Linked DNA regions of Homo sapiens: all the other regions are linked to region 1. Evidence: promoter capture Hi-C in 16 types of primary human blood cells and fetal thymus (Javierre and others, 2016). All regions are on one chromosome and are shown on one strand. Each heading gives the region's core, a stretch centred on a gene start or on the middle of the fragment in contact. The rest is flanking DNA. Distances are from core to core; before and after follow the strand shown. Region 1 holds the start of ERLIN2 (ER lipid raft associated 2). Region 2 has its middle 370 kb from the start of LINC01605. Region 3 has its middle 330 kb from the start of LINC01605. Region 4 overlaps BAG4 (BAG cochaperone 4). Region 5 overlaps LSM1 (LSM1 homolog, mRNA degradation associated). Region 6 has its middle 280 kb from the start of LINC01605. Region 7 has its middle 260 kb from the start of LINC01605.

What was found. The method cuts DNA at HindIII sites, captures the fragments that hold promoters and counts their contacts. A CHiCAGO score of 5 or more calls a contact.
Region 2: a contact is called between a fragment that was not itself captured here and the fragment with the promoter of ERLIN2 in region 1, in 2 of 17 cell types (M2 macrophages and M0 macrophages). The highest score is 5.3, in M2 macrophages.
Region 3: a fragment that was not itself captured here is called in contact with the fragment with the promoter of ERLIN2 in region 1 in 2 of 17 cell types (naive CD4 T cells and non-activated CD4 T cells); the score reaches 5.5 in naive CD4 T cells.
Region 4: a fragment that was not itself captured here is called in contact with the fragment with the promoter of ERLIN2 in region 1 in 1 of 17 cell types (neutrophils); the score reaches 5.7 in neutrophils.
Region 5: a contact is called between a fragment that was not itself captured here and the fragment with the promoter of ERLIN2 in region 1, in 3 of 17 cell types (activated CD4 T cells, neutrophils and total B cells). The highest score is 5.9, in activated CD4 T cells.
Region 6: a fragment that was not itself captured here is called in contact with the fragment with the promoter of ERLIN2 in region 1 in 1 of 17 cell types (M2 macrophages); the score reaches 6.2 in M2 macrophages.
Region 7: a fragment that was not itself captured here is called in contact with the fragment with the promoter of ERLIN2 in region 1 in 3 of 17 cell types (M0 macrophages, M2 macrophages and M1 macrophages); the score reaches 5.7 in M0 macrophages.

Annotation. Positions count from the first base shown.
Region 1 is chr8:37,735,366-37,737,904 of GRCh38, forward strand. ERLIN2 (ER lipid raft associated 2) reads left to right here and starts at 1,269. Exons shown (of 12, transcript NM_007175.8): 1 at 1,269-1,313. It overlaps LOC102723701 (a long non-coding RNA gene), which reads right to left and starts at 2,061. Exons shown (of 2, transcript NR_125821.1): 1 at 2,014-2,061; 2 at 1-1,433. RefSeq lists enhancers at 1,142-1,351, 1,831-2,539. The HindIII fragment of the contact is 8,102 bases long and covers 1-2,539 here.
Region 2 is chr8:37,229,541-37,232,079 of GRCh38, forward strand. No RefSeq gene overlaps it. Among named protein-coding and RNA genes, the nearest start is that of LINC01605, 370 kb to the right of the region's middle. The HindIII fragment of the contact is 2,690 bases long and covers 1-2,539 here.
Region 3 is chr8:37,270,126-37,272,664 of GRCh38, forward strand. No RefSeq gene overlaps it. Among named protein-coding and RNA genes, the nearest start is that of LINC01605, 330 kb to the right of the region's middle. The HindIII fragment of the contact is 2,043 bases long and covers 258-2,300 here.
Region 4 is chr8:38,187,838-38,190,376 of GRCh38, forward strand. The region is part of intron 1 of BAG4 (BAG cochaperone 4); the gene reads left to right. Among named protein-coding and RNA genes, the nearest start is that of BAG4, 12 kb to the left of the region's middle. The HindIII fragment of the contact is 4,700 bases long and covers 1-2,539 here.
Region 5 is chr8:38,168,213-38,170,751 of GRCh38, forward strand. It overlaps LSM1 (LSM1 homolog, mRNA degradation associated), which reads right to left. Exons shown (of 4, transcript NM_014462.3): 3 at 1,590-1,705. Among named protein-coding and RNA genes, the nearest start is that of LSM1, 7.0 kb to the right of the region's middle. The HindIII fragment of the contact is 199 bases long and covers 1,168-1,366 here.
Region 6 is chr8:37,315,017-37,317,555 of GRCh38, forward strand. No RefSeq gene overlaps it. Among named protein-coding and RNA genes, the nearest start is that of LINC01605, 280 kb to the right of the region's middle. The HindIII fragment of the contact is 3,626 bases long and covers 1-2,539 here.
Region 7 is chr8:37,334,877-37,337,415 of GRCh38, forward strand. No RefSeq gene overlaps it. Among named protein-coding and RNA genes, the nearest start is that of LINC01605, 260 kb to the right of the region's middle. The HindIII fragment of the contact is 1,949 bases long and covers 290-2,238 here.

The sequences.
Region 1 (2,539 bases), core at 19-2,518:
AAGTGGACTCTTTCTCTCCTGCAAACAAAATATTAATAACCTCAGTGGCTGAATTAGAAATGCCCCAATGTGATGCTGGTGAATAGGGCAGGTGGAGGACAACGTGAGGCCCTTAGACTAGGAGACACAAACTCTGGATTCCGGGCCTGGTCCCACGTTGCCTTCAGTCTGTTTTTACTGGGCACCTAAGCCCCGGGGGTGCGGAAGGAAAGTCAGTCTCTGCTCTCCCGGGAACGTACAGTTTATCTAGAAAGACGAAGTGCACTAGCCCCTGTGCACTGTGGCAGGAGTTTAAAAAGCAGTGAACTCAAGATATTAAGGAAACACAAAGGAAACTTTCCTTGGCTTTTACCCTTGAACCTCGCTGAACTTCTTAGATTCCGTTCATTAAAATTAGAATAATAATTCCTTGTTAATATACTTTGTGGCGTTGCAGGATCCCAAGGGCCAAAGCTCCCAGAAAAATATAAAGAACAACTCAAGGTAGGGATTTTTGATTGGTGAGGTAATGATGCTAATCTGTACATTGAAAAGACTGTTTCATTTCAGCTGTGCTATAGGAAAGCAAACAGTTGCAACTCGCCAGTACCTTATCAAGGAGAGAAAAAAAAAAAGGCCGCGCATGGTGGCTCATGCCTGTAATCCCAGCAGTTTGGGAGGCCGAGGCAGGAGGATTGCTTGAAGCCAGAGTTTGAGACCAGAAATACCAAGACCCTGTCTTTACTAAAAATAAAATTGTCAAGTGTCGTGGCGTGCGCCTGTGGTCCCAGCTACTCAGCAGGGTGAGGTGGGAGGATCGCTTAAGCCCAGGAGTTCGAGGCTGTAGTGAGCTATGATCGTGCCACTGCACTCCAGCCTGGGCAAAAGAGCGAGACCTTGTCTCTAAAAAAACCAAAACGAACCAGGTTCGGCCTAATGCAGAAGGAAATCCGGAGCAATCCCCAAAGTCAACGCCTTGGAAAGGTTCGCCCTGGGTCTCAGTACTCCGGGGCATGCGCGTCCTGCCGCTCGCTCTCGGGGAGCTCCCACCAACACCGCCCTCATCCCCAGCCCCAGGACGGATACCCAAGACCGAGGTCCAGGACCGCACCGACCAAGTCGCGGGCGATCCCTGGCGGCCAGCTACGGCCATTGACCGCTGGGAGCGCGAGGGGCGGGGCGCAGAGCGAGCGCGGGGCGGGGGTGTGGTCTTCTCGCGTGAATTGATGGCGTCATCGAAGCGACGGCCCGGAAGGAAGTCGCGTGCTGAGGGGTGTGACGGTTTTCTTGCTCGTGGGCTCGGACGAGTACGGAGCGCCTGCAGGGACAGCCTGGTACGCGGCCCCCGCCCCTTCGTGCGCGCGCTGGGCCTAGCTGCCGCTCAGGGTCGGGGCTGACCCGTCACTTTCGGGAACCTCAGTCCCAGCAGCTTCTCTCCCTCAGCCGGCCCGCTCCTGGAGAGAGACAGAAACCCTTTTCTGTCGCGTCCTCTCCTTGCGAGCCGCAGGGGGACCGAGCGGAGGCTATTGGAGCCGCAGCCCCAGACCAGGGCGCTTGACCCTCTCTCGGAACGGGGCGGGGAAGGGGCGCGAGTGACCTCGGGGAGGGAAGGGCACTGGCAGGAAAGGACGCAACTGCAGATCGGTAGCCGGAGGCCGCCACGGTAAAATAAGCGCCTCGCAGATGTCCGCGCCCCGGTTACGTTAGACCTGGGAGGCAGAATCCACGCCCTGCGCTCACGGGCCCACGCACGCACAGCTGAACTTTGCAGTCAGTCACCATAGTTCCAGATCATTCAGCGTTCAGGATCCCACTCCTCCGCGTCCTGGTGCCTGAACGCGGTTGGACCTAGGAGCCTAGAGGCTCGCAGTTTGGGACATTGCCTTTCTCTCTGACCACGGGCTTGGGGATCTGTCAGGTGCAAAGTGCCAAAGTATATGGGGGGGAGTGTGGCTTCAGGCTTGTTCAGAGCCCTGTCCTGTTTAGGGCCAAAGGAATAACTGGGAAGGTGGATGCGAGGCCAACGAATCCTACCTTGAAACTCTGCTCGCCTGCTGGCTCTGCCACTCCAGCATCTGAAAGGAGTAAATAATGGTTTCCTTTGAAACTGCAGGCAATTAGGAGTGGGAGACTCTGACCAGAATTACATAGCCACAACTGCCTGTCATTTGGCATCCTCTGTAATTTGGGCCAAAGTACTGCAGCTGCCTCTCTTCCCTACTACTGGTAGGAAAGGTTCAGTGACAGCACATTCGTGTTCACAGGAAGACAAGGCTGTGTTCTGAACCCTACCCAGCTGGCACGGGTTCTCCCTTGAGCAACGGCTGTATCCGGAGCCAGTGCTTCCTCAGTGCGGTGGGGGCTCTAATTTTACAGTTAAAGAAAGGGGAACGTTGACTGAGAACGAGGAGGAAGCGAGTTGTAGATCTAGCCTTGTGTTCACACGACACCAGGCTGGATATGAGTCACTCGCAGGGAGCTCAGCTTGGTGAGGTCCTCTCGCTGTTGTGGCCTTTTCTCCTGCACGTTGGACCACACACATTTTCCCGTGTCTTTTCCC
Region 2 (2,539 bases), core at 22-2,521, 510 kb before region 1:
GAGTGATTAATATTATAACAATACCAGTTTTAACCAAATTAATCTAAATTCAAAGCAACCTCAAATAATATTTCAGCAGAACTGTTGTCAAAGAAATAGCCTTATTTTTAAACTCTGTAGAAAAATAAGAGTTCATAGATAGCTAAGTCAGTTTTGATAACAAAAAGAACATTTAAAATATGTGTTACAATAGAAACAATAGGCCAATAGAATCCTGGGAAGCAATAAAGGGTTCAAAAAAATGCTTATGTGCACACAGAAACACAGTATATCCGAGAATGTTACCGCAAACCAGTGGGAAAAAATGGATTTTTAAATAGATGTTATTGGGAAATTACTACACTCTATGCATGGAAAGAAGCTGTTAGATACAATAAAATATCTATATAAAGTAAAGATCTAAATAGGAAAGATGGAACTACAAATATAATTTTTAAATAAAAGAGAACATTGTTTGCGATGTGGGGTGAGCCTTATTTTAAAATAAGGCTCCAAACACACAAATCATAATGTAAAAATATTTTCTGAATTCAAGTGCAATATTTCTATTTCATGAAAAATGTTATAGACAAAATAAGAAATAGGGAGGGGAAAGGATAAATGTTCGATGTTAAAAGCTAGGAAACAAGTTATTCCCTAGAATATACCAGCAATTTTCACAAATCAACTAGAATATAGGAACCCAATATGCAAATGGAAAAGGGTTTAAGTAGGCAATTCACAGAGGGGAACTCCCAATGGCTGGCATATACAGAGATAGTCAGATAACTGTGTCGGATAACAATCAGATGACTGTAAACTAAAATAACAGCGAGAGACCACTTTTTGACCACCCAAATGTCCAAAATTTAAAAATTGGGTAATCAATGTTGGAAAGATATGGAGACACACAAACCCTCGTGCATTTTTGGTGGACATGTAACACTGGCATCTATTATGGAGAACAATATGGCAGTATTTAGCAAAAGTAAAAATGCATGTACCCTAAAATCCGGTAGTTCTTCTGCATTTTAATCATATAAGTAAAAAGCAGCAGGAAATTTCGGACAACTTAAAGAGTTCACCGTTCGGGAATTGGACTGAAGTGATGAATGTATACCTACTGTGGAATACTGTGCATCAGTTAAGAGCAATGGACTTTAGGTACACAGTAATACAAACAAATCTTTTAATACAAAGTGTTGACTCTCACTTCTGGATGGAATAGAGCAGTTAGGGACAGGGCACACTCCTGCAGAGAACAACTGGATCAACCAAAATGATCAACACAGACAATGCCAAGTTCTGGTGGTATCACTTTGAAAACATTTTGGTGATATTTAACAACAATTGCACTCCCAGGTATGTACTCAACATGTGTGTCCACCACAAGAATCTGTAACATTGTTCATAGCAACACTCATTATAATTGCCCTAAACTAGAAACAACTCACATACTTATCAAGAATAGAATGAATAAATACATTTTGGTATATTCATACAATTGAATACTACACTGCAATGAGAATAAATAAACAGTTTGAATTAATCTCACAAATATAATGTTCAGTGAGATACGTCAAATAGCAAAGATAGCAAAAGCAAAATTTTATTTCTGTGGAATTCAAAAGCAGGCAAAATTAATCTATAATGTTAAAACCTAGAATCATGGTTTCCGTTGGCAGGCGAAAGTCTCCAATTAGAAGGGGATGGAGGAGTGGTCTGGGGTTCAGATCATACTCTGGTTCTTTATCTAGTTGCTGGTGAACTTTCTTAACTTTGTGAAAATTCACTGAGCTGTGCCCTTTGAATTTGGGCAATTTTCTTTATGTGTATTATATTACAATAACAATTTACATAATAAAAAACACAGTGCTGAGTGGCATACTAAGAAACAGAATTAATTCAACTCTATAAACCTAAAGCTATTTAAAGAAACAAAAATGAAAGACCAAGGAATAAGAGAGGAAGGAAGGAAGAGAGGAAAGAAGAGAGGAAGAGAGGAAGGGAAGAAAGGAGGAAAGAAGGAAGGAAGGGAGGAAGGAGGTGGGGGGGAGAAAGGAGAGGAGAGGAGAGGAGGAAAGGGAGGGAGAGAGGAAGGGAAGGAGAAAGGAGAGAGGGAGGAAGAAAGGAAAGAAAGAAGGGAGGGAGGGTGAGAGAAAGGAGAGAGGAAGGAAGAAAGGGAGGGAGGGAAGGAGGGAAGGAGAAAAAAGGAAAGGAAGAGAAAGAAGAAAGAAAAAAAGGGGGAACAGAAAAAGACCCCAGCACATTTGACTTACAATGGCTATTTTAGTCTGCAGAGTCTTCTATCCAAGAGTTATTTGACTACATCTTTTAAAAAGCTGGGGATGGGAGGAAGGTCAGAAGGGGAGTGTTGCTTGGTTTTTCTACAATTGATACAGCAATGTAGGCCTTGTGGACTCATTGCTGGATGCAGGCATGTCATTTTTCATCACAAACCTCATATCCCTTTCTTAGTGCATAGTGGGAAACAGAGTCTCATTTAGCATGAAATGGCCTGCCGCAGGCTAAAGAGTCATTGATTCCCAGAAAATACACT
Region 3 (2,539 bases), core at 29-2,528, 470 kb before region 1:
CTGCCTGTTGTTGTGTACCAGGAGTTAATTTAAAACTACACAAGACATCTGAGGCTGGACAATCAATCACTTCATCATTGCCACTGCAGATAAAGAGAGTGGCGAGACAGGAGGAAGGATGGAGGAGCACATAAGAGAGAGCGATAAACTCCCTGCCTCCGAATCAGCCTCAGAGAAACAAGCCATACTCCTTTGGTGCTCATGGGCCTCTGTGTGCAGGAACTGGAGAATGAAGAAGAAGGCTGAAACAGAAACTAAGCTTCCTCCAAGAGAAGCCCAGGGCTGTCCCAAACATCGGGTGTGCTGGGAAAGACTGGAAGCTGAAAGGGGTCTAGAAGATGTTGGGTTGGAAAAGGACTTCATTCTGCATGCAAAGGATGCTCAAGAAGTCACTGAGTGTCTCTGTTCACTGAGCTAACCAGCAAGCTCTATGTGCATGATTCTGGGCTATTTCCTTATAGCTGGAGCAGCAGTGGGCATAGCAGGGTCTCAGGAGTCAGGAGGATCCCCACTGTCACCCTGGCTGGACTGGACCGTGGCTCACTCCTCCTAGAGGGATATCAAGCCCAGCCTCTGGCAAGGAGACTGCAGTCTGTCAACTCTGAGTGGCATCCGTGGAGTGCCACGTTCCAGCGTCCCGTGTCCTCTGCATAAATGCAATTTCCCCAAATGTCAGGAGAAAAGCATTACGGATAACACATTGTGTGTGTCTTTGACCCAGTAAGTGCTGAAATCACAGATCTCATTATTCTGACATGATAGAATTTTCTCTTTCTCTCTCCCAGCACAGGCTGACTGCTGTTGTTTTTCATACTGCAGACCTAATTGCCAAAGGTGCAAAGCCACCACAGAAAAACAGGCCTCACCTATTTCCTACCCCCAAAACAAAATGCCAGGTCTCCTTGTATGAGAAGAAAATGATCTTAAAGTCAGCTCATAACAGGACATTAAGTTGTGGATAATTTGGGCCACAGCTTTCCTGGATGCCTGAAAAATAGACAGTATTTGACATTGAAAGCAGAATCGCCCTGGATGACTCCACCAGCACATCTGACTTCCAGTGCAGGAGCTGTCTGAGATTTAGGGTAGGGGCAAGAGCAATGAATGAATTTGAGAGCTAGGTCTATTCTGTCTATCTGTGCAGTCATACTCAAGTTGTTAATTCCCCTCAGTTAGTCTTCTCATCTATAAAAATAAAGGATTAAAGCTGTGTCATAGGATGGATGTGAGAAATAAAGACATGGTGATGCATATATGGTGTCTGGCAAAGAATCGGTGCTAAAAACATTTATTACAGTTAAATCTAGAGTTCCACTTTAGGGATGTAGTCAATATATCATCCATTCAATCAACAAACAAACAAGTGTTTACTGAGTGCCCTGATCTTGAAGACAGAAGACATGGGCTCACTAAGTATTCGTTGAATGAGTGAATTGCTTCTCATTTATCATGAGGGGACTCTGGACAAGTCCAATTCTTTCTCTGACTGTTTCACAGCCTATCAAATGCAAGGTATGTAGGAATCACCTTGAAACAGCCTTCTGGTTTTGAGACTCCGTTGCTCGAGAGGGCCTGTATGAAAGCACAAAGAGGTACAGTACAAGACAGAGTGGCAGCTCTCCCAAGCCTTATGATGTAGTTAACAGGGTGTATCAGATACATCTCCATGAAGGTAGCAAATAAATTGAGAGCTAGGTCTATTCTGTCTATCTGTGCAGTCAGAGGTGGTATGTGAGGGGTGCAGCTAAGGGGCAAGTGCTACAGGTGTTCAGAAGAGAAAGAGGGCTGGTGTTTGGAGGAAGCGAGGTCAAGCCTGCACCTTGGAGGTATGATGGGATTGTATTGGCAGCAAGAAGGCCAAAGGCATTCCAGGGCAAGTTGTACTGACCTTCACAGCTCAAGCGGGAATGGTTACATTGAAATCTCAGTGAAGTTCAATTCAAGTTAGAAGTTAAATCATAGGATACAAGTGCCGGTTATTAAAAGGCAGAACTGCATAACAAGCATCCCCAACCTGTTGTGGGCTTCCTACCAGGCCTTCTTTTAGCCCTCCATCTTGCCAGGCCATCACCCAAAATGCCAGTGAGAACTTGTCCCTCCTCACTTCCCCACCTGGCTTCTCCATCACCTCTTCATGGAGTCTTTCTGAAAAGTCACTGCCCCATGTTTGTCTCTTCTCTTGCTCACCTTCCTCTACAGGCTTAAAGGGAGACCCAGGAAGCAATGACACCTGGAAGGTTCTGTTTGGTCTTACTCCCTTCTTGGATTGTTGAACTACAAATGCCACATTTTCTCCTTCAAGCTTGGTCTTGCCTTCCTCTTTCTACCATAGAAACAGGCAACAATACATAAATTGAGTTTTTCTGGTAATAAAAAAATACACTTTTACATTCATTGTAAATTTTGGAAAGTATAGGCAAGTATAAAGAAAGTAATAAACACCAGTGTCAAGCATAGATGATAAATAGACAGATGATAGGTAAATGATAGATAGATAGATAGATAGATAGATAGATAGATAGATAGATGATAGAATGAT
Region 4 (2,539 bases), core at 21-2,520, 450 kb after region 1:
TGGTGAAACCTTGTCTGTACTAAAAATACAAAAAAAAAAAAAAAAAAAAATTAGCCGGGCGTGGTGGCGGGCGCCTGTAGTCCCAGCTACTTGGGAGGCTGAGGCAGGAGAATGGCATGAACCCGGGAGGCGGAGCTTGCAGTGAGCCGAGATCGTGCCACTGCACTCCAGCCTGGGTGATAGAGTGAGACTCCGTCTCAAAAAAAAAAAAAAAAAAAAAAGGAAGAAGAAGAAGTGTATTGTTAGCCCAAGAGTAACTGCTAAAGAAAAAAAAAGTATAATCATTAAGTTATAATGCTACATTTGAAAATATTCACTTAATGCAAAAGAAAGCAGTAAAGGTGGAATAAAGGACAAAAACACATGAGACATATAAAAAACAAAAAGTAAAAATAAAACATGTAAATCCAGCTATATCAATAATATTAAATGTGCATGGATTAAGCAATCTAGTCAGAAGACAGACTGGATTAAAAAAAAAACAAGATCCAATTATATGGTGTCTAAAGGTGGCACACTTAAGGTTTAAAGATACAAATAGTTTGAAAGTAAATGGATGGAAAAAGAAATATAATGCAATAAAGAAAAGATAAATGTTTGAGGTGTCAGATATGCCAGTTACCCTGTTTTGATCATTACACTTTATATACATGTATCAAAATATCACATGTATCCCAAAAATATGTACTACTTTTATTAATTAAAAATTACATATATGCACATATAAATACATATATATACGTGTATACACATATATATATGCATGTATACATATATATACATGTACACATATATATACATATATACATGTATACATATATACATGTATACATATACATGTATACATATATACATGTATACATATATATGTATATATATATAAAAATATGCAAAAGGCAACTATGAGAAAGCTGGAGTGGCTACTTTAATATCAGCTTTTTATTTACTTTTTATTTATTTATTTGTTTATCTTTGAGATGGAGCCTTGCTCTGTCACCCAGGCTGGAGTGCAGTGGCACGATCTTGGCTCACTGCAACCTCCGCCTCCCAGGTTCAAGCAATTTTCCTGCCTCAACCTCCCAAGTAGCTAGGACTACGGGTGTGTGCCACCATGCCCGGCTAATTTTTTTTTTTTTTTTGAGATGGAGTCTCACCCTGTTGCCCAGGCTGGAGTGCAGTGGTGCAATCTCAGTTCACTACACCTCTGCTTCCTGGGTTCAAGCAATTCTCGTGCCTCAGCCTCCTGAGTAGCTGCCCGCCACCACACCCAGCTCATTTTTGTATTTTATTAGAGACGAGGTTTCACCATGTGGGCCCGGCCGGTCTTGAACTCCTGACCTCAAGTGACCCACCCACCTCGGCCTCCCAAAGTGTTGGGATTACAGACGTAAGCCACCATGCCAGGCCTGAATTATATACTTTAAATAGGTGAATTGGATGGTAGTGAGTAAAACTTGAAAATAAGAATACCAGTTTTATGAGTAACAACTAATGGATGCAGTTTCGGTTTCTTTGCAGTTCAGCTTGTCCTTAGAGAATAAATTCCACTGAGGACGTACAGTCAAAATAACGTGAGCTAAAAGTCATTTGAAGTAATTCTTTTTTCTCTGTGGTTATGTTACCAACTTGATTGTTAGTTATTGCATTAATTGACTTTTCCTATACTGAAACAACAATTCCAGAATTTTAGTAGCTTATAATGATAAACATTTATTTCTTGCTCAGGTTCTGTGAGTCCACTCTAGTGGTTCTTCTCTAGGCCCCAGGTTCAGTTCAGGTCTACCTGTGTGTCTTCTCATCCTGGGACTTCAGTTGAAAACACAGCTCCCATATAAGATAATGTAGGTCTTGTGGAGGGCATGGGAACACAAGAGGGTTGCTAGAATTTGCAGCGACTCCTAAATCCTTTGTGTGGACTGGCACACTGTCACTTTTATCCATATTTGTTTGTTTTGCATAAAAGGTTAAATTACGTTTTGTTGTTGTTGTTGTTGTTTTGAGACGGAGTCTCCCTCTGTTGCCCAGGCTGGAGTGCAGTGGCGTGATCTAGGCTTGCTGCAAGCTCCGCCTCCCAGGTAGCTGGGACTACAGGCGCCCGCCACCACACCTGGCTAATTTTTTGTATTTTTAGTAGAGATGGGGTTTCACCGTGTTAGCTAGGATGGTCTCTATCTCCTGACCTCGTGATCCACCTGCCTTGGCCTCCCAAAGTGCTGGGATTACAGGTGTGAGCCGCTGCACCCAGCCAAATTATGTTTTTTACTTATGTGAGTTTGTAATGACACCACCACATTCACTATCCCCCAGTTCTTCCTCATTTTGCCCCATTCCATATTTTATCTTTCCTTGTCCTCGTGACAATATCGGTTCCCAATAACACTACTGTATGTATTTATTCTATTCTACAATACACACAATATAGTTTAAAAATTAAGATAGTAATATCACTACTAATAACATTATATGAAGAGTTTAAGATATTTTTAAATTTCTTTTGCTTTTAGAAAGGTACCACTAAAGATGTCCATTCAGAAAACTG
Region 5 (2,539 bases), core at 17-2,516, 430 kb after region 1:
AGCCTCCCGAAGTGCTGGGATTACAGGCGTGAGGCACCGCACCTGGCCTTGTTTCAGCCTTTATGCGACACAAGAAGATAACAATTTCTGCTGCTTGGCTGGGCGCGGTGGCTCATGCCTGTAATCCCAGCACACTGGGAGGCCGAGGCGGGTAGATCGCCTGAGGTCAGGAGTTCGAGACCAGCCTGGCCAACATAGTGAAACCCCGTCTCTACTAAAAATACAAAAATTAGCTGGGCTTGGTTGCGGGCACCTGTAATCCCAGCTACTCGGGAGGCTGAGGCAGGAGAATCACTTGAACCTGGGAGGCGGAAGTTGCAGTGAGCTGAGATCATGCCATTGCACTCCAGCCTGGGCAACAGGAGCAAAACTCTGTCCCAAAAAAAAAAAAAAACCCAAAAAACAAAAAACAATTTCTGCTGCTTAAACATGCAAGAAATGATACACTGAACTAAAAGTACAAACTACAAAAATATTTTATAAGAAAAATTTTTATAAGTATTACTTATAAATATTTTATAAGTAAGAAAAAGCTATTTCATATATTTCACAGCATATATTTCATATATTCATATATTTCATATACTTCATATATTTCACTTGGGCAGTATTGATAGTCTGGATTAGTCATTTCTAGCTATTTCCAATATGAGGTCTCTGAACCAACCCAACCCTAGCAGAATTATCTCCTTGCTTTCTCAAATGGCTGTTAAAAATGGCTACAAACCAAACCACTCTAAAGATTTCTGCAAACTGATTTAAGACATGGCTAGGTATTTAGAAAACAGTATTAAAAACTTTAAAAATTAAGCAAACACCAAAGTTTTTGGTAAGAAAAAAGAAGACAGTGCTGGCTCAACCCTTAATTTCAACTACTCTTGAAGAGATTTTTATTTTCCTTGCAAACCCAATAATCAGAAATAACAAGATGAAATCAAAGGTTTTAAATAAGATACTTTAAAAAAAAATCTGAGTACTTCTAGTAGGGGTGTGTGTGTGTATGTCTGCACACACGAAGACCTACAGCAACAATACCTCAGAAAATCTGATTTAACCTTTCACCTGCCAGCTGGTCTTTCTGGCACAGATACCAAAATACCCTCTCCCTGGCTGTGAGCTAAGGATCCAAGTAAGACTGAACTCCATTCTCGGGATAGGTAACGGAAAAGCTTTTCCTATAGCTACTCTTTCCCTTTCCCCCTTTACTAATATGGATATCACATTGTACTGTACAGGCAATATGTACTTCCCTGAAATACTGTGCATTAGCTTTATGCCATGAAAAACCACTTGTAACCAATTGTTTAAATGACTGCAAAATATTCCAACGTATGTAAGACACACCTTCCCCAGCATATATAAATCAAGCTTTGTCAATTTTCTGCTATTAAACAAATATATTAATGAACACATTTGTTAAGGCACTGAAACAAAGTATTCTCTGTAGCTTCCCTAAATTAATTTGGTAGTTGCCTAGGAGAAGCCAGATAAATGTGGAGAATATTTTTATTCTCTTTTGAAAAGACAAAAAAAGAAGTCTAACTAGCATGAATATGAAGATCTACAGCAGCTTAATAGTTTTCACTTACTATTTCTCCTAGTAGGACCACATTTTCTCCTCTGACCACAAAAATCCCTCGAGGAATATCACCGTATTTTTTGCCCACATGAATACGCTCCACAGTCTGATGTAGCACTAAGTTTGCTGTAAGTGTATAGGGAAAAACCAAAGATATTTAGTTTAAACTACTGGGTAAAGGCCCATAACTCAATAATCAGTTATTTTGAAAAGATTTAGGTAAACATGATTTCCAAGCTTTCTAATTATTTTTATTTATTTATTTTTTGAGACCGAGTCTCGCTCTGTCACCCAGGCTGGACTGCAGTGGCGCCATCTCAGCTCACTGCAACCTCTGCCTACTGGTTCAAGCAATTCTCCTGCCTCAGATTCCGGAGTAGCTGGGACTACAGGTGCCTGCCACCACTCCCGGCTAATTCTGTATTTTTAGCAGAGACAGGGATCACCACATTGGCCAGGCTGGTCTTGAACTCCTGGCCTTGTGATCCGCCCACCTCGGCCTTCCAAAGTGCTGGGATTACAGGCGTGAGCCACAGTGCCGGGCCCCCAAGCTTTCTAATTCTGGGGAAGGCTAAAATTTCAAATAATCTTCTCCTATTTCATTGAGTAAGACGTACCAGTTAGGAGATGTCTGGGATTATGTTGGGCTAATACATGAATGACAGCAGAAATAAGAGAAATAAATTCCTTTATCAGTTAATTGCTAATACCAAAAAAAACCATAGGAAAATATAAATGAATAAGGAACTTGGAAAACTTGGGCCTAAACAACCACAGAGATCAAAACTTTTGTTTTCTGGAAAGAAACAGCTTTTCTTTTTGTGTGGGTGTGTATGTGATGATCTGCTGAAGATTCAACTTTCTTTTAGTAATTAGGATTCATTTGACCCAACGCAGGTATCCATGGGTTATGATACAGCAAAAACCTATTTTTTCACCTTGACAGATAACTATATTTGT
Region 6 (2,539 bases), core at 21-2,520, 420 kb before region 1:
CTCTACTAAAAATGCAAAAATTAGCCAGGTGTTGTTGTGGGCATCTTTAATCCCAGCTACACGGGAAGCTAAGCCACAAGAATCACTTGAACCTGCGAGGCGGAGGTTGCAGAGAGCTGAGATCGCACCACTGCACTCCAGCCTGGGAGACAGAGTGAGACCTTGTCTGCAAATAAATAAATAAATAAAAATAAAAAATAAAAAAAAAAGATACTACTCGAGACTGGGTAATTTATAAAGGAAAGAGGTTTCATTGACTCAGTTCTGCATGGCTGGGAAGGCCTCAAGAAACTTAAAATCATGACAGAAAGGGAAGCAGTTATGTCTTACATGACGGTAGGAGACACAGGAGAAAGTGAAGGGGAAAGAGCTCCTTATAAAACCATCAGATCTCGTGACAGCTCAGTCACTATCATGAGAACAGCATGGGGAAAACCAACCCTGTGATCCAATCATCTCCCTTCTTTGACACGTGGGGATTACAAGTCCCTCCCTCCACATGTGGGGATTACAATTCAAGATGAGATTTGGGTGGGGACACAGAGCCAAGCCATATCACCTAACAAAGGTTTGTTTCCCCAAAAGTCTCAAGCCAAACTCAGTGAAGAACTGGACATAAGAACAGTGGGAGACTCTGCATACATTCTGTGTCTAGCTGAGCACAGCAGCTATAAAGAAGAAAGTTCTATTTCCTCAGGTGGCGAAGCATGGTGGAGCTGGGCCTCCCACTGGACTGGGGTCTGTGCCCCTTGAGGATAAAGGAGAGAATCAAGCTCAGTGGGAAAATGGGAACATTGAAATCAAACCTCACCAGCTGCACAGGTTTCCTAGGGCTGAGATTGCCTTTACTGATTATAGAAACTTCGTCAAACTTTGTATAAACAGAAATGCACAATAGGAAGAGATGCATTTTTCATGGGCCACAGTTTGCAGTCCCCCCAGGAAGTGCTTCCTACACTTAGGGCCACGAGTCGTTGACATAGACCCAGATTCTCTCCCCTGCAGCTCCTCTTTGCTGGGGAAGGTTGGGATCAGCCCCATGATGCTTGCTACCAGAAATACATGGTGACCAGCAGGGAAAGTGGATAGTAGCTCAAGAGGACACACCTGTCTGCTCCTTCAGCTCTTCCCTCCTGAGTCAAGAGGAATCAGAAACATCCACTCCAAGGGGAAGAACCTGTAACTGGATCAGCTACTGTGCTTTCAAAAGAGCTTAGCCGCTGGGCACATGTGACCAGGGAGCATTTGCAATGTGGCTAGTCAGAAATGAGGCACACGATAAGTGGAAAATGCACACTGGATTTTGAATACTATGCACAAAAAAAATGTAAAATATCTCATTGATTTTTATATTACTTTTTTCATATTGCTTGTATTTTAAATATATCAGGTTAAATAAAATTTGTTATTCAGAGTAATTTCACTTCTTTATTTTTACTTTTTTATAATGTGGCTCCTAAATAATTTAAAACTGCACATGGGGCCTGCATTATATTTCTATTGGACAGCCCTGAACTGGAGGATAAACATCAATGAAGGAAACAGACAAGGACTGCCAGGTCATTCCACTCTGAGCACGCCATGTATGGAAAGTACTTAATGACAAGTGTGCCTCATTTTATTCAGCAAACTTGAAGGTCAACATAAAGAAATGGGAAGACAGTAGGCCTAAGCACCAAGAGTCCAGGCCCGGGAACTCCACCAGCCAGATGTGGGCCAGGAGTGGGAGTCAAACCAAAGCACAGCCTCCAATTAGCCCATCATCTCCCACTTCTTCCTCTCAGAAGATCTGGACTTTCCTGATGCAAAAGACCCCACGGCCAGCATTTCCTATCCAATCCCCACCGATGGCTGTTGTAGGCTTCTGAAAAATCAGAACAGGTTAAGTTGCTCAGACTCAACCTTTGGGGTCCTTTCTGGATATAGTGGGAAATGTGGGATTTGTGGTTGGACAAATCTGGAGTCAGATTTCAGTTCTGCTGTTGACAAGTCCCACGTGCTTAGACAAGAAACTAAACCTCTCTGAGTTGTCATTTCTTCCTATGTAAACTAGGTATTAGGATGGTGCAAAAGTAATTGCAGATTTTGCCATTACCTTTAATAAAATAATTTATTTTATTGTATTAAATTTTTGAACTTTAATAAATTTATTTTATTAGATTATTAATAAAAGAAATTATTTTATTTGATTATTAATAGAAATTATTTATTTTATTTGATTATTAATAAAATAATTTATTTTATTTGATTATTAATAAAATAAATAATTTATTTTATTTGATTATTAATAAAATAAATAATTTATTTTATTTGATTATTAATAAAATAAATTATTTGTTTTATTTGATTATTAATAAAATAAATTATTTGATTATTAATAAAATAAATAATTTTATTTGATTATTAATAAAATAAATAATTTATTTTATTTGATTATTAATAAAATAAATAATTTTATTTGATTACTAATAAAATAAATAATTTATTTGATTTGATTATTAATAAAATAAATTATTTATTTTACTATTGTTTATTGATT
Region 7 (2,539 bases), core at 14-2,513, 400 kb before region 1:
AACCAGCCCCCATGAAAACTTACAAAAAAAAAAAAAAAACCTTTAATTAGGGAAATGAGCACAAGAGAATCAACTCAACAAAAGTATGGGCACCGGATGTATGCCCAGCACTGCACCAGGCCTTGGAGAGGCAGAGTTTCTGCCCTCAAGGAGGTCACTGTGCAGGAGCCCGATGCTGGATACCCACAAGTGCAATGTAAGGGCTGTAATAAATGTGTACAGTGAGCGTAAGCACGGAGGAGGGGCTCTGTTTTCAGTGTGTGTTCCCCAGAAACAGACTCCAAAGCAAAGCTTCAGGTACAAATAGATCATTCGAAGTAAACTGAAAAACCACTGATAGCGGAGTGACAAAGTGACCCAGGGGAGGGAAGGAAGCCAGGCAGGGTTCATTGTCACCAGTTGCTACACCAGATGGGGGAGCTCAGCTCCACGGGAGACCTCTCTGGGCTATCTTGCCTCAGAAATATCCTGTCCAGGGGTGGGGAACCAACAGTCATTGGTAGAGGGGTCTCCTAGGGAGGTAACCCACAACATTTTCAACCTGTCCCATGCAAGGGCAGAGTGAGCAGACAGAGAAAGCCTTCAGGTAGAGTAGCTGGTGCTGGCCGTTAGAAGTCACACTGCCAGTGCAAACATTGTAAATGCCACAGGGACTCGGGTGCAGCACCCATGACAGCTGCTATAGACACGTGTGTTCCACCTAAAGTGAGGAGGAGGTCAGGAGGCTCCAAAGGAGTGTGGACATTTGAGCTGGGCCTTGGCAGATGCACCAGTGATGGCTAGGCAGAGATGTGCAGAGGGCATCAGGGAGGGAGGACATTTGTTCCAAAGTAAAGGGAAAGTGTGAACAAAGCAACAAAGCCTGGGAAGTGCATGATTTGTTTCAACACCTTCAGATGGCATGGGATTCTAGCTGTTGTGTAGACAGAAGGTCCAGCCAGGCAGCTGGAGAGTCTCAGAGAGGCAGACTAGGGCCGGACTGTGAAGACCTTGGCATCTCCTGCAGACACACAGGGAGACATCGTGGCTTTTAAATAAGAGAGAGACACGGACACAGGGAAGTCTTCACGAACTTGCTAGTCCCATGCCAGTCAGGACAGGCCGTGAGGACTTCACGTGTTCTCTGCAGGGCCTGGTACATTGAGGGGAAAGAGTGATATCAATGCAAGGCTCGAGTGTGGTGGGTGAACACATGGACTCAGTAGCACTAATGAAACTAACTCCTCATAAAACAAACAGCCAACAGAAGCATTTAAAAGAATGAAAATAAAAAGGACTTTCCAAATTGATGGTGTGCATCAGGGTGTGTGGGACCCCACACTCCTGGCCTGCAACAGGCTCTTATTTCAAGGCACGCTGGACTTGTCCCCATGGGAATATCTGCTGGGCCAAGCTGATCAGAGCATGTCTTCTCTGTCTGCAGTCACCACCACCTGAGACCCAAGAGCTGGCATCAGTACCCATGCTCCTGGATTCAGACTACCTACCTTTGCAGGGGGTAGTGGTACAGGGACAAGAAATTCCCTGTCGCTGTTTTTAAAAAGTTTGGCCTATGGTTTTGTATATCATCAGAGCAAATTGAGTTAAGGAAAGAAAAAGGAATTGAAGGTTTACCCAATGCTGACGCATACCCATTTTCATTCATTCTAGCCAATCTTGGACATTACTGATGTATTACTGAGATTTCATTCCAGTTGCTCCATTGTAAAGCCAGTTGGCTAGAGGCTTTATTGAGATAACACCCTCACAACTGCTATCACAAAGTTCTAAGTAGGACTACCAATTTCAAAATAGAAACCAGCAAATGAAGTTATTAGAGATCAGGTCTGGCCCTGAAGGCTTCTCTACAAAGGAGGCCTGTGGTAGGCAGACTTCTAAGAGGACGCCTACTGATCTTCACCTCCTGGTATGCACTTCCTTGTAAAATCTCTCCCCCTTGAGTGTGATATGGATCTAGTGACTCACTTCTAATGAACAGAATACAGCAAAAGTGATGGGTTGTCTCTTCAGAGATTAGATTACAAAAGGCTGTGAGTTCTGTCTCATATTCACTTGCTCTCTCTCTCTCTCTCTCTCTTTGATGAAGCAAGCCACCATGTGGTGAGCTGCCCTACTGAGAAGCTCACATAGCAAGGAGGGCAGCCTCCAGCCTGCAGCCACTGAGAAACTGAGGTCCACAGGGACTGAACCCTGCCAATAACCTCTTGATGAGCTTGGAAGTCAATCCACCCCCAGTTAAGCTTGGAGATGACTGCAGGCCCAGCCATCACCTTGACTACAGCCTCACGGCCAACCCAGAAGCAGAGAGCCCGGCTAAGTGATGGCCAGGTTCCTGACTCACAGAAACTATGAGATAATAAATGTGATTTGTTTTAAGTCACTAAGTTTTGGGGTAACTTATTACATCACAATAGATAAAAATGTTCATTGTCATTTTCTAATATTATTTTCAAGACATTTCTATTATATTTTGTAGTATGTCTATTATTATTTTCTAATATTATTTTCTAGACATATTTTCCATAACTGTTTTCTAGAC